Linked DNA regions of Homo sapiens: all the other regions are linked to region 2. The links are contacts of gene promoters, found by promoter capture Hi-C in blood cells and fetal thymus (Javierre and others, 2016). All regions are on one chromosome and are shown on one strand. Each heading gives the region's core, a stretch centred on a gene start or on the middle of the fragment in contact. The rest is flanking DNA. Distances are from core to core; before and after follow the strand shown.

Evidence for each region. Contacts are between HindIII fragments. The CHiCAGO score rates a contact against its expected background, and 5 or more counts as called.
Region 1: a fragment that was not itself captured here is called in contact with the fragment with the promoter of METTL4 in region 2 in 1 of 17 cell types (M0 macrophages); the score reaches 6.7 in M0 macrophages.
Region 3: the fragment with the promoter of MYL12A here is called in contact with the fragment with the promoter of METTL4 in region 2 in 2 of 17 cell types (fetal thymus and naive CD4 T cells); the score reaches 8.7 in fetal thymus.
Region 4: a fragment that was not itself captured here is called in contact with the fragment with the promoter of METTL4 in region 2 in 2 of 17 cell types (fetal thymus and naive CD4 T cells); the score reaches 10.9 in fetal thymus.

Annotation. Positions count from the first base shown.
Region 1 is chr18:1,573,898-1,577,160 of GRCh38, reverse strand. No RefSeq gene overlaps it. Among named protein-coding and RNA genes, the nearest start is that of LINC00470, 220 kb to the right of the region's middle. The HindIII fragment of the contact is 2,651 bases long and covers 361-3,011 here.
Region 2 is chr18:2,569,432-2,573,012 of GRCh38, reverse strand. METTL4 (methyltransferase 4, N6-adenosine) reads left to right here and starts at 1,508. Exons shown (of 9, transcript NM_022840.5): 1 at 1,508-1,864. NDC80 (NDC80 kinetochore complex component) reads right to left here and starts at 1,456. Exons shown (of 17, transcript NM_006101.3): 1 at 1,330-1,456; 2 at 1-36. The coding sequence starts at 27. RefSeq lists enhancers at 1,451-1,610, 1,493-2,415. The HindIII fragment of the contact is 2,186 bases long and covers 1-1,754 here.
Region 3 is chr18:3,246,551-3,249,931 of GRCh38, reverse strand. It overlaps MYL12A (myosin light chain 12A), which reads right to left and starts at 2,131. Exons shown (of 4, transcript NM_006471.4): 1 at 2,023-2,131. It also overlaps a transcript of MYOM1 not described here. RefSeq lists enhancers at 993-1,062, 2,195-2,424 and a silencer at 1,825-1,904. The HindIII fragment of the contact is 13,247 bases long and covers 1-3,381 here.
Region 4 is chr18:3,449,941-3,453,323 of GRCh38, reverse strand. It overlaps TGIF1 (TGFB induced factor homeobox 1), which reads right to left and starts at 3,152. Exons shown (of 3, transcript NM_003244.4): 1 at 2,819-3,152. The coding sequence starts at 2,834. It overlaps LOC124904237 (a long non-coding RNA gene), which reads left to right and starts at 2,668. Exons shown (of 2, transcript XR_007066269.1): 1 at 2,668-2,792. RefSeq lists enhancers at 1-591, 592-1,213, 1,214-1,835 and silencers at 2,413-2,462, 3,103-3,262, 3,293-3,383. The HindIII fragment of the contact is 1,565 bases long and covers 468-2,032 here.

The sequences.
Region 1 (3,263 bases), core at 437-2,936, 1.0 Mb after region 2:
TAATAATAGCTTCCAAATCTTGGTGGCTTGTACCAAACAAGACTTATTTCTTACTCTCAAAAAATACAATGCAATTTTGAAAAGTAGCCACCTCCCTTATCTTGCAACTATGCTATCCATAAGCAGAGGAAAAATGAACTGGCAGGTAGCATCAGATGTTTTTAAGGACAAAGTCTAGATATATCTTACATCATTTTCACCCACAATCCATCAGTCAAAACTCTATCTCATGACCCAAACTAATGGTATGAAAGCCAGGAAAAGTAGTCTTTCCATTTTCCCAGAAAGAGGAAACAGTACAGTAAAGACAGAACAGCTTCTATGCCAAAAGAGGACTGACAGATACATAAGTTTTAAGCTTAGGGATGAGATTTTCATTAAATTTATTTGCTGGGTACTTAATGAAGTTCTACATTAAAACTTTACTTTCTTTATAAGGAAAGTCAGTACAATAAGGTCTGCATTATCTACTTTATGAGGCTATTATAATAAAATTAAATGATTATGTGGAAGAACTAAGCTCTAAAGTAGTACATAAAACAACACAAACATATATTTTAGGTACATTTGGTACCATACTTACTCTAGAAATATAGGCCTACACAGAAAGGAAGGCAGTTACTCTCTGCTCTTGTTTGATACTTGCTTCCCATGTAGTGTGTTTCCTAAATGAAAGTGTGTGTGTGTGTGTGTGTGTGTGTGTGTGTGTGTGTGTGTGTGTGTGTGGTAGTTGGTCATCTTTTCACAATTGAGGACAGCAAGGACTACCAGACAACTTCCAATACCTAGGAGTTGTCAAATATTTTGTGTAAAAGGGCAGATCTTATATATTTTAGGCTTTGTGGGCTATAAGGTCACCACAGAAGTCTGTCACAACTACTCAGCTCTGCCACTATAGAGCAAAAACAGCCACTGACCATAGGAATGGACATGATTGTGTTTCAATAAAACTTTATTTACAAATATAGATAGGATGCTGAAGACAACTGATTTGTCCAAAAGAGTTCTTTCTGCATTCGTAAGGATTTAAATATCAGATCGACTTTGATAGTATATATGTGGTACTTGAAGGCATTTTCTTAATCCTGCAACACTCTTATTTTTAGCCCCTAAAATAGTCAATACCTATCATTTTTACTGGATAAGCAAAAAACGCCTTCTATTGCTTCAGGATAGGAACTGGGATCCATAAATAAACTTATATAGAAACTAATGGAATGTTTTTAATAGAGAAATAGTCATAGATATGATTACACAGTAAAGACAAAACAGATCTTTGTAATGGAAAACAGATTGAGTATCCACAAAACTTAAACAATGGACAATGAAAAGCTGGAAATGTCAAGGCCCTAAGTAAGGCTCAGGGAAATCAATTCATTCTCAAAACTATGTGTTTTAGCTGAGAAATCCTTATGTGCTACTAGCCTTCCTTGGATAAGAGAACACAGTAATTATAATAAACTAATAAAGCAACATCATTTGTAATTTTTGATGCTCAAGAGCTAATAAACAGAGTGCTTGTCAATGGTCTAATCCATATTTTCTTTAGCCAGTAAACACCCAACGGTCAAAATATTTATTTATGAAAAGACTTCATATCTACCATATCTGTTATTAATGTTTTTCTTTCCACTTTTATAATTTATACCACACATTTATACAATCCTCTGCTGCTTTGGGAATGATATAGTAGTCTGAAAAATAGTAAATTCTCTTCCAGTTACAGTATGAAAGAACATAAAATTTAGCCTTGACAGACAATTTTTTTAAGAAGGTATTGCTGCGAGATGCCTTGATTATCTTTACAACAGCTGCTGAAGGAAGGTCTCAGTCCAAAGAGTATGTTATTGGGTTAGAAAAAAAACTCTCTATAGCTGCAATAGTCTGCGCTTCTACTTGCTGGCTAACACAGGTTAACACAATAGAAGCTAATTATTCTGTCGGGTCAGAGGCTACTGACAGTAAAAAGACAGCCTGTGATCAGGGAAGAACCTCTTTTCACCTCTCTACTACCCTGTCCATAGGGTGCTGAGTGATGTGAGCTCACTCTGATCATATTAAGACAATTCTATCTGCAATGGCTTCATACCTCATTACTATTATCAATGATAAAAGGATATGTGGAACTGAATCTTTGCATATACTTTCTCATTTTCTCACCTTTGATTATTGCCTTCTTCACACCTGCTTATTGAGCTTATACTAAATCCCTTGACAATTGGAGGTCTGGAATCTCACCTGCTAATTACATTGGCTGTGGCTCAAAAACAGACCCATGCTACTGAAGCACCTGTAAACTTTACTTAATGGACATGTTATGACATTTAAAAGCCCCCCTTTCCCCCCTTTATTGATAGCTTTCTTACAAAATTTAAGTCAGTTTTTCTGTAACCAAGTTTATAAAGACCTTGCATTATTAAATTTAATGTAAACCTATTAGTCTTACATTTACTTATTTAATGTGTTATTGTAAATCTGTTATCTAGAGCTATAAATCCAATTCCTTCATCAAGCATTTACCAATTACCCACTATGTGCAGAGGATTTTAGTAAGAACAATGACAGATACAATGAGATGAGCTGTAAGGAACGAACTTGTGGTTAGAAAGAACTATACAATGAAGTATGAATGACAAGGACTGTAACTGAGCTTTGAAGAAATTCTACAGGAGTATAAAAGAATGAAGAGTAACTAATTACATCAATTATTAATGTTGCAAAACCGAACTTGGGTCTGCCTGCTCAGTGCAGCAAAACTGAACAATAATATCAGGATTTGCAGCAAGATAAAGTGAAGCATGGGGAATTAGGAAGTTAACACTTAAGACTCTGAACTCTCCAATGGCGTACATGTTAAGAGTTTTTAAAGGCAGGGAGGTTGGTTATAGGCAATGCATGAAGGCTATACATTAGTTTGCCTAAAAGGCAGGCCATCTTGAAGCAGGGACTTACAGGCCACAGGTGGATATACAAAGATTCTCTGATTTGTGATTGGTTAAGAGAGCAAAGCTTTATCGAAAACTTGGGGTCAGCAGAAAGGAATGTTGAGCTCTGGCCTGTGTACATGACTTAGTCCAGGCCCCTCAGGAAGAAATTTAGAAAAAAGAACAGTGGCCAGAGTTCTGACCACAGTTCCCCCTTATCTGAAGTCTCCGTGCCAGTGGACAGCGTTTTTCATTTGGTGGGGGTCCAGGTGTTTGAAAAACAACTCAGGGACATATGTTAATATATTATCTTTAGTTTCTACGGGAACCAAACATTTT
Region 2 (3,581 bases), core at 259-2,758:
ACCGCTGGAAACTGAACTGCGCTTCATGCTTATGACCTACATTCACGAATTCAGTATTTAAAAAAAACTTTCCAGACAGAGATGGTACATTAAGCAACTATTTATCCTTAAACAGAAAGACAGTCAGGTTTCATTGTTTCTTCAAGATCATCATCTTTCCCCTGGGGTATCTCTTTTTTGTTCATGTACACTGAAGTTCTCATTTGCAAGGAACATCTATTTAATTCCATTTAAAAATATTCAACATAAACATTTATTAACTGCCCACTATATATATAGGGGAGTGTGCTAGGCAATGCAGGAGATGCAAAGACGAGTAAGTTACGGTTTTTGCCTTCACAAGGGTATCCGTGGTAGCTAAAGCCCTGTCTGTTACCCAGACCACATTACTGCTGTTGGCTGTGCCTATTTCAATAGGAAGACAAAAAAATTACCTCAAATTCTCTTATTCACCTCAAAATGTTTCCTTTTCTTTGGTTTCAGAGAATGGAATTATTCTGTTTTCCTAATGTCAATCTCTCCTGCTCTGTCCTTAACCCATTGTTTCCTCAATTACTGCCCTTTTGGCATCAATCTCCCCTTCAACAAGGATAAATCATCCGGTCCATAAAATGGTCTATAGGCTGCCTCCATTTACAAACCACATTAACAGGTCACTCCCTTCACATCTGCTAAAAAATTTGTCTCCTAGGATACACATGATTGACAAAACTTTTGATCCTGTCTCATCTCTGCACCCAGCCTTCTCAGGTCCTGCCCTGGCTTTCAGGAAGGTGACAATCCTTTTACTTCTCTGGGTACTCCTTAGTCTTTTACACTGATTAGACTCTTCTTGATTTTGGCCGCCTATTTCCTCTTCAATATGCGCTTGTTCATCTATTCAACTTTTCCACTCACACCTGTGTGTCCACGTTTAATCTCCACTTAGAATGTAGCTCTCATGATTTAAGATGAAGACTTCTACACGCAGTCCTACACGGCCATAAGAAGCTACACTAGTATTCAGACGCAACCCACCCAACGAGTCCTCTCTTGTCCATCTCTTTCCGCCCCCTTCAATTCTTCCCCGTTTCCTCTCCCGAGCCTCCACTCCTCATCAGTGTCCCCCAGGCCCTCCCCTTTCCTCCTTGGGAAATCGTTGCCACTAGAAATTTAATAGATCCCGTGAAACCAGCGCCTCGCACAGTTTTGGCCTCGAGGCTTCTCCCAACAGCAAACAAACACCAAAACATCGCCTCAGGACCTCTAAATTTAAGTCATTGGCGCCATCACTTTCTTCCTCCAGAACAGCTCTGCAGAAACAAAGTTAATCCGATGTCATTCAGTCACCTTTTTTCCAGTTTCCTGACACGACCCAGGGACCGAATTTCTGTAAACCGTGCAAGTATCTGCTAGACAGGACAGCGGTCATCAAAACACCAGGTCCTTCCTCGGCCCGCCAAAGCCGTTCGAATTTGAAATTCTCCGCCGGCGCTGACGTCATTACGCACGACGCGCGCAGTAACTTCCATGCGACCGCCTCGTCGCTGGAAGGCTGCGTGCTGGTCGCGCCCAGCTGCGTCACCCCAGGAACTGGGGTCTGTGGGCCAGTGTGGCCGTCTCTACGAAGACTGGCACGACCCCTAAAGTTAGGTCGGAAGACCTGTGGGCAGCTTGAGCGCCGAGGAGTGCCCTGAACGCTCAACTCGCCCTGGAAACGTTTTTCCGTACAGCAACATGGCGGCGCCCATGGACTCTTAGAAAAGGAGAAAGCTTTTTCTCTGTGGACTGGAAGGGGCATTTTTCATGATCACTATTTAGATGGGTGCTGTTTTCATGAGGAGAGTCTGGGAAGGCGGCGTCCGCTTTTCTGACAAGGGAAGAGGTGAGGTGGGAGAGGGGCTGCGGAGTGGGTGGAATGGGCTCCCAGGATTGCGTTGGTACGGCTGCCGAAATTCGGGCTCAGTATTTGATCACTTGCCGGAGGCTCACGGTCCTCTGGTGGTGGCTGACCTGTGAGAGGCTAGGAAGAATCCAAGTGTTTGGGGGCGGGCGGCGAGGGAGTGGATGTGAAGCAGAGACGCAGGAGAGGGGTGCACTAACAACAGTAACAGTAGATCACTTTGCTAAAATAGGATTTCCTCGCTGCTGTGAGTTTGAATCCAGAAACAGGCACTGCCCGGTACCTGGAGAGTGGTGGTGATGAAAGATCTCACAGCTCCAGGAAGTCTGGATACTTGGGTCTGGTAGCAATTGTGCCATTAACTAGCGTTGTTATTTTTGGGCAGCTTGCCTTTCTGCTCTGAGTTTCAATTTTCCCGTCTGAATTTCTAGCTCTCACTAGCCATTCCAGGACCCTTTTCACCTCAGCTGTGGCCTATGAAGGGGATGGGGAGGAACCAAGGATTATATTAATATAAAAATTATATGAAAATTAGGCAACCGTCTGATAATAAAAAGTCTCCTTGTGGAATACTGTTAGGTTAAACTTTACCTACAGATTGTTAAATCCTTAGCACTAATGTTTTCCCCAGAAAAGATTAATGGAAACATCATTTGCTTTTCTGACTAGATAGTTGCTGCTTCCAAAGGTGGTTTTACACAAATACAAAATTAAAAACACCTTTAGTACAGAAATAATTGCTTGTATTTCGGTATACATTCACAGTACAGTTCAGCATTTAGTGGTCCTGCTAGCAATTTGCCAGGAAGTCAAGCCTGCCAATTTCCTGATATTCCTGCTGTGCACCCCAACTTCTTAATCCCTGCTGAGGATCTTGAGAAGCAGCAGCACCAAAACCAAAGTAGGCACCAAATTCAAGGTTCTTTTGGTTCCGGTTGTCACATTTCAAGCTAGACTCCAATAGATGGAAGGATGATCACATGTGAGCCCTGTTTAAAACTTCAATTTTTAAGAGCAAGCACAATTGCAGGAAAAGAAAACAATTCAGAGGGATCATGTGTGCTTACAGTTGTCTTCATGTGGCCTTTTCCCAGGTTTAACCACCAAGGACCCTGACAGCCGGGGTGTCTGAATAACCCTGGTGACTCTTTTCACCATATCAAAACCTGAGTTAAAAGGCTGATGATAACAGCAGAAGGTGGCAGGGCTGAGGACCCACTATTAATTTCCTAGGCTGGTGGAGAGTGAATAAATGTTCTTCCAACCTTACCTTATGGCTTCTGGTCAAAGCAAAGAAGTGTCGTGGAAAGTGTTGGGTGGTGACAGTGCAAAAAGAGACTTGACGGGGAGGGAGCAGCATCTCTTGATAAAGGTGGGGAAGAGAAGATATGGGGAAAGCCCTGAATTCCTCATGGAAGGCGAATCTCAGAGGGGAGCGGAGCAGAGGGCTTATGATCTGTGCTTTGGCCAAGGGTGGGAGTGGAAGAGGTGGGGACAGGACAGTGGTTTGGAAGGAGCATCACTGAATACTTAAACTGAGTGCCCACACACTCAGCAGTGGTCCCACAGGCTGTGATCTTCACGTCTACTCTAACAAGCCTCCCAGGCTAGAGGGCTGTTGCAGTGGGTGGGGGTGGGAGGAAGGGAGAGCGGTAGGGGGAGAAGGCGGAGACTCCAGGCCATGTAAGGAGAAGCAAGG
Region 3 (3,381 bases), core at 882-3,381, 680 kb before region 2:
TTTATTTACTTATTTATTTTTATTTATTTATTTTTGAGACGGAGTCTTGCTCTGTCGCCCAGGGTGGAGTGCAGTGGCGCGATCTCAACCTCCACCTCCAGGGTTCAAGCAATTCTCTGCCTCAGCCTCTGGAGTAGCTGGGATTACAGGCACCCACCACCATGCCCAGCTAATTTTTGTATTTTTAGTAGAGACGGGGTTTCACCACCTTGTGCAGGCTGGTCTTGAACTCCTGACTTCGTGATCCACCTGCCTCGGCCTCCCAAAGTGCTGGAATTACAGGCGTGAGCCACCGCACCCAGCTCGAGTCTTTATTTTTGAGGGATTAAGTGAAAGATCCTTGGTGTCAAGGAGTGTCTGTTGTACGAAACTGGAAAGTAGAGAGACTTACAGAACAGGCTTCTACAAAATATGAGGATTTCAGATGCATGAGAAAGTGGATGAAGGGCAGTTAGGAGACTGAGTTTACAGATCTAAAGGAGCATAACCTTTTTTTTAAGTCAGGCGAGGTGAGCGCTGGTGGCAATGAATCTGGTTTTTATTTTGTGTTTTAGCTCAGAATCATTGTGGGCTGTAACGAGAGATACACAACATGATTAAGGAAAATGTTAGACTAGATTAATAGGTGGGAGAAATAGAAGAGATTCTCAAAGTGGCTTTCCCCACACACCAAAGGACACAAGAAGTTTTCAGAATCTCTAGAAACTATGTTCATTTATAAAATGGGATTAATCCATACCAATATATACATTAGAGTTCTGTGGTTAGAATCCTAGAGTCCAGCATTTATTTACAAAGTGGCAATAAATGTAAAATAACCTAGAAACTTCTTCTACAAAACGAACACTCAAATTGATAATATTCTGAGAAATATCACACATTCTGCAAGAAAAAACCACCATCTTACAAAACACTGCGTACTGTGATAGCACCTAGTATTTGGTGGGCTTTCTAAACCCTGACCAAATATACCGCCTCATTTAATCAATGCACTTAAAAAAAAAAAGCCTAAGTATAACTTATTTTCTGGTGCTAACCACAATTTTTAAAAAGTGTATTTCAAGTTGGTGCTTCCGTTCCAAGTAAACCAAGTTTCATTTCTTATGCAAACTTCCGGTTGAAGGTAGGATTCGTTCTCTTGGACTGCCACACCCAAAAGTTCTCACCACTGGACAAAGACAATTAGCTGTGAGGGCTGACTTGCCAGTAAAGCCTCGCTTTTGAAAATAGAGTGCTTTTCTGATTACCGTTTATTAGAGCCCTTCCAGAACATGAAACAAATACCAATAATTTTAAGAAATATTCGCTTTATTCGCCTTTAAATATGAAACTTTTTGCACTTAAGTTAAAATCTCTGCTAAATCCATAGGTCTCTCAAGAACTGACAGATACATTCATATACCTACTAAACTACTTTAAAAAGAAGACACTTCCATGGCGAATTGAATTAGCCCAAACTTTCCCCCCAAATGGGACAAGGTATTACATTTTGGAGTTTTTCTTCGAGTCACAAACTAAACTCCAGATCTCTCTGTCCAAAATTTCATCGCTTAAAGAAAAAAAGTTCTAATTACAGGAGCGGATACTGAGCTGAAGAACTTCCCAATTTGAGTTGGTTATTCCTACTAAACGCAGCCACACAGCTGCAACAACAGCTGCAGCAGGGGGACAACGGGCTACGTTTTTGCGCAAACCCTCTTGAATCGGGCAAGTTGACGTTAGAAACTAAAATAGTCCCGGAGTCAGCTCTGCAGGGGTCGGGTTTCGCGGGCCCGGCAGTCGCCCAAGCTCAAGGCGCCAGTGAGCGAAGCCACATTTCCAGAGTTCCAAGTTTGGGCACAGGAGCGAAGTTCGGGTCTGGGCCACTCCAAGCCATGGCCTCGGATCCCAGAACCGGGGACCTGGCTGGCACACCTGCCCAGGTGCGCTACCGGCGCCAGGAGCCCCGCCGCCCTCCAGCTGCCCCCGCGGAGACGGGTCCCCGGGATGGGTCTCACGCGCCCGAACGCGAGCGCCACTCACCCGGCACAGCTACGAGAATCCGAGCACCTCTCCGAGCCCCTCGCTGCCGCTATCACACCACCCTGCTACCCAGAGAGCCGCTAAAAACCACCGCTTCCGGCCTCTGCTTAGCAAGCCGGAAGGAAGCCCGGTCACCTTTCTTGGCCCGCAGAGTGGGTCTGACTTCACGGAGGGGCGACAGAGAGGGAAGTCGCCAGTGTGGTCAGCGGGCGTGGTATTGACCAAGTGCATGAGAAGGAAGTGTAAAGTGGGCGACCTAGAATATAGAGCAATATATAATGGTCCTCTGGGTCCTGTTACTGAGTTTCCTTCTTTTTTGTACCTGTTGTTGCAGTGTTAAGTCTTCCTCCCCCCTATCCTTTCCGCAGATGGTTGCGTCCGTCCTGTGGCTTTGCCTGGCCGCACATTCCAGGGCACGGCGAAGGGCGGGGCCCGTCGGCCCAAGTCCTTGTAGGGAAATCGAGGAGAGGGCTGCGGGCCCACGTGACTGACCCTCGCCCCGCCCCGAAGCCGGGCTCCAGCTTGTGGGCGGTAGTGCGCCTGCGCTTGACGCCCCGCGCGGGGTCTGGGTCTCCGCCTGAGGGCCCCGGAGCAGTGCGCGTATCCCGGGAGCGGATCTTGATGCTAGCTCTGTGTGCAGTGTAATTTTATTAAGAGTCCCGCCCCCTCCATACGGGAGGAAACGTGTGTCCCTGGGGCCCTCAGCCAAGCCTCCACTATCTTTTTGGCCCAGACGGATTTCCCAGGTCACAAGTGGCTGGAGACTTCCTCTTGAAAAACATTTGCCGTCGTTTTTCCCTGGCAGAGCCCCTTTGACCCTGGCTAACAAGGACAGCCTGACTTGGATCCCACTATGCAGGAAGGAAGGCGACTCTTCCCCGCACCTCTTGCTACGATTAGGACTTGCGACTTGGTGAAAACAGGAATCAAAACTTGGGCCTATTTCTCCTGAGGTCTGCTTGCCTAGAACAATTCGTAACGATGAATCTTATTAAAAAGAGAAAGTCCTCCCCGACTTTATCTTTTTCCGCCCAGAATCCGATAAGGAAGACTTGTTCTGGCCCCCTCAGCTCTCTGACCTCACCTACCAGAGGAGAGAGTGGGATCCTCTAACACTCGAGCCGTCATCCCAGCACTAGGGGACAGTGACCAGTGTGGCTCCCGTGGCCAGAACCCTTCTGAAGTTTGGGTTGCCCTGTGGTCTTCGCCTTCAAAGCAGGCCGCCACTTGAATCCTTCTGGAACGGACAGTGTTGCTGTAAACGCCGCGGAATAGTATCTTCTAAGTATTCGTAGCTTCTTTCTTGAGGGATCTCGGGAACGTTCCGTGTATTAACCACTAACGTATTCCAAAGTTAAC
Region 4 (3,383 bases), core at 1-2,500, 880 kb before region 2:
ATAAGATTGATGGGAAAAGTCGAGATGCACAATTAGGAAAAAGCAAATTTAACTCAACAAGTTTCCTGACCAGAAGTTCTCCTTTGAGCTGGGAGCAATGTCTCTTGCCTGTAATCCCAGAACTTTGGGAGGCCAAGGCGAGAGGATTTCTTGAGCCCAGGAGTTCGAGACCAGCCTGGGCAACATAGCCAGACCCGGTCTCCAGGAACAAAAGAAAAAAAAAATCAGTATCTCCTTGGGAGAAGCAACAGGCATTGAACACTCAAGCCACCAAATCCAAGGTATGGTTGGCTACCCCAGCCAAAGAGCAATCCCAAAGCAGGAATTCAACAGTTAAAAACTGGGAGCAAAAAGACTTAGTGGATTTTCCTTATCGATCCTTCTCATTGTTTTTAAGTCATTTTAGGAGATCTTTTGGCGTCACTCTCAGCTTTCTGGGAGGACACACTATTATCACAAACCAAGCTTACCCCGGGCTCAGGAATGGAGCTGAAAGTGCACTTGTTTTAAGAAAACTTGAAAAGATTTGCAGACTTTTATAAGACAAGACAGTAAGGAGGGCCCGACTTCCTCAGGAGTCTTTCCAGAGCCGACGGGGAAGGCTCCCCCCTCCCAGGTAGTTTTAGAGGAGGACGGCGGAGGAGCACGGGGAGAGGGAGGGGCCCAAGGAGGAAAAGCAAGTAGCTTTTGTTCTTGAGAGTTCCTCGGCCTCAAGTGAAACAGGCCGGCCCGCACACTGCACGAGTTAGCACAAGCAAAGGAACTCCAGGACCCAAGAAACTAGAAATGAGGCCGTGAATCCCACCTTCTCAGAGGCCTGCCCACCCCAGACGACTCGCCAGGGAAACCTAAAAGGGGAAAGAAACCCGGGTAACCTCGGCAGCCTCGGCTCCCCCAAAGAGCCCTGAACCAGTCGCAAAGTTTCCCCTTCAGCCCGTCACCTTTCATTGTTTCCAGGAGTCGGCGCCGAGGAGCTGGACCCTGTGCGCCCTGGGATGGGGACCGCGGAAGTTCCCACCGATGCGGCCGGCGGGGCCCAGCCTTGGTCCCCAGCTCCGGGGAGAGGGCACGCGGCTGTGGGCAGCGCGCCGGTGGAGGAGGGGGGGCGCAGGAGGACCCCAGGAGCGCAGAGGGGGTCGCCAGGGAGGACCACGGCGCTGGGGGAAGGTAGGCCAAAGTGCCGCGGGAGAGTCGGGGGGACGCCAGAAAAGCCGTGGAAAAGGAGCACTGGGGATTCCCGGGGTGGGAGGCGGGCCATGGAAAGGAATCAGAGCCGCCCCCGCCGGAGCCCGAACAATGCGGGGAGCCCACCCCGGCAGACACCCGGCTCTGCGCTAGAACCATCCTCGAAACACAGAGCCCCTCACTTATTCCCGGGAGGCCCACCACAACAGACAGCGCGTGTCTCTAGACCTGTCAGTCCTCCCAAGGGTCGGCACGGCTTTCACGGGGCGTCTCGGACGCCCCCCGCGCGTTTTCTCCCAGGGCCAATTCCCTGTCCCGAGTCCTCCCTCCGTCCCGCGGGGAGGGGTCCTTAGGGCGTTCTACCAACAACGACTGCCAGTTGATCCGAGTTTCAAGTTTAATTTCACTCTCGCTGGGAAAGCCTGGAGGCAGAGGGAAGCTCCGCGCGTTTCAGGGCCTCCCACAGAAACGCAGCCGAAGGAACCCCGCTGGCCTTGAGGCTACCCCCCAGGAACGCCCCGCAGCGGGCCGGGTCTGAAAGAATGTGGAGTTCCAAACTCCAGGCGGCTCCCGGGCATGCGCAGTAGCGCCGCCCCTCCCGTCCGCTTCCCGAGTGATTAACTTCTGTTTTGAACCACTCCACATAAATCACGACAGAAACGCCACCTCCAGCCCACAGCGGAACACTCGGGGGACCTCCCAGCCAGGGACTCAATTTTTGTTAACTTCAAAAGGGACTTCACACTCTGACCTTTCGGGGTGTTTTGTGTGGTTTCTCCACCCCCCGTCCCCCTCCGGTGTATTTTGTTTTTAAACCAAACTGACGGCAAGTTTTAGTTGTAAAGCTTCCAGAACACTTCGTGGAAACAATGACAGCCTTGCTCTTTGCACTTACAACCAAGCCTGCTTGTCACATTTGGACGCATTTTGACTGCATGCCGCTTGAAGCTGCTGGCCCTGGGTGCTAACTCTTCCTCCTGCCCCAAAATTCATCGTGGGAAAACTTTTAGAGACTGGGGATTTGTAAAAGTCTAGCTTTCCAAAGCTGTTTACACCCGAGGGCGATGAGGGGGTCCAGAATCGCATTCCTTCGATCGTAAAAACACCACATCCCTAAAGAACAGTGCTAGGGCCCGGCTGGGAGTAGGGGGGCGGCGGGGGCGGGGGCGGGGGGAGCCTAGGAGTGGAACTTTCAGACAAAGCCGCGGCGGTCCCGCGGCCCCGGCCGCCTGGGTCCGGATCGGGAAAAACGAGGGGCTGGGTCCTCCCTACTCGGACCCCATATCCCCAGCACGCGAGAAAGAGCGAGAAGCCACGCGGCGGCTGGGCCGAGCGTGGGGTGTCGGCGGAGACAATGAAACTTGCAGGCGCACAAACAAGGCGCTGAGCGTGTTTCTTGACAACGTGCCAGCAGCGTGGAGAGGCTCGCCCCACAACAGCCCCTCGTGTTGTGTCTAGCAGGAAAACAGCCGCTGCCGTTTCAGACGCAGCCTCAACAAAGAGCACGGCCGCCACTCCAGCATGAGAGCCCCTGGGCGGAAAAGTCCACCAAGTGACTCCGCGCGGCGCGGCCCGGCCAGCACGTTTCCCCGGACTCGCGTCTTCTGGTGCGCGCAGCCCGCGGCCGCCTTACCTTTCTTGCCTTTCATTCTGGATCTCCCCTCCCAGCGCGAGGCAAGGCGGGGGTCTGGAGGGGCCAGGAGCGGGGACACAGGGGATAAGCGAACGTCTCCTTCACAGCCGACTCTCCCGTAACTTGTAGGACGTGCTCCAGCCGTTATTGCTAAACAGGACGCTCTGATCCCAGGCGCCCGCTCCTTGGGTGGAATTCAAGTGACACTTGGGCTTCCTCCCGCCGGGATCTTCTGGCAGCCGGCCGGGGGCTCTCCCTCGCCCAACTCTCTCCCCTCCCCTCTCCGCTCCTTTGTTCCCTGCTCCTGCTCGGCGCACCTCGGCGCTGTCAGAGTGAGAGAGGCGAGGAGGGAAGGTACAGGAGGTCCTGCCTCCGCCCCCAGCCGCCCGCCCCGTCCCCCTCCCGCCCCGCCGCTCCTCCGCCCCTCCCCCGCACCTTCCAGCCGGGAAGACTGGACCGAGCGCGGCGGCCGCTGTCACTCGTCCCTCGGGGGCGGCGGTGCGGACGCGGGGGGTGGCCGGGTCCAGAAACACGATCCTTTCCGCCTGCCGCGCACGGACCGCCC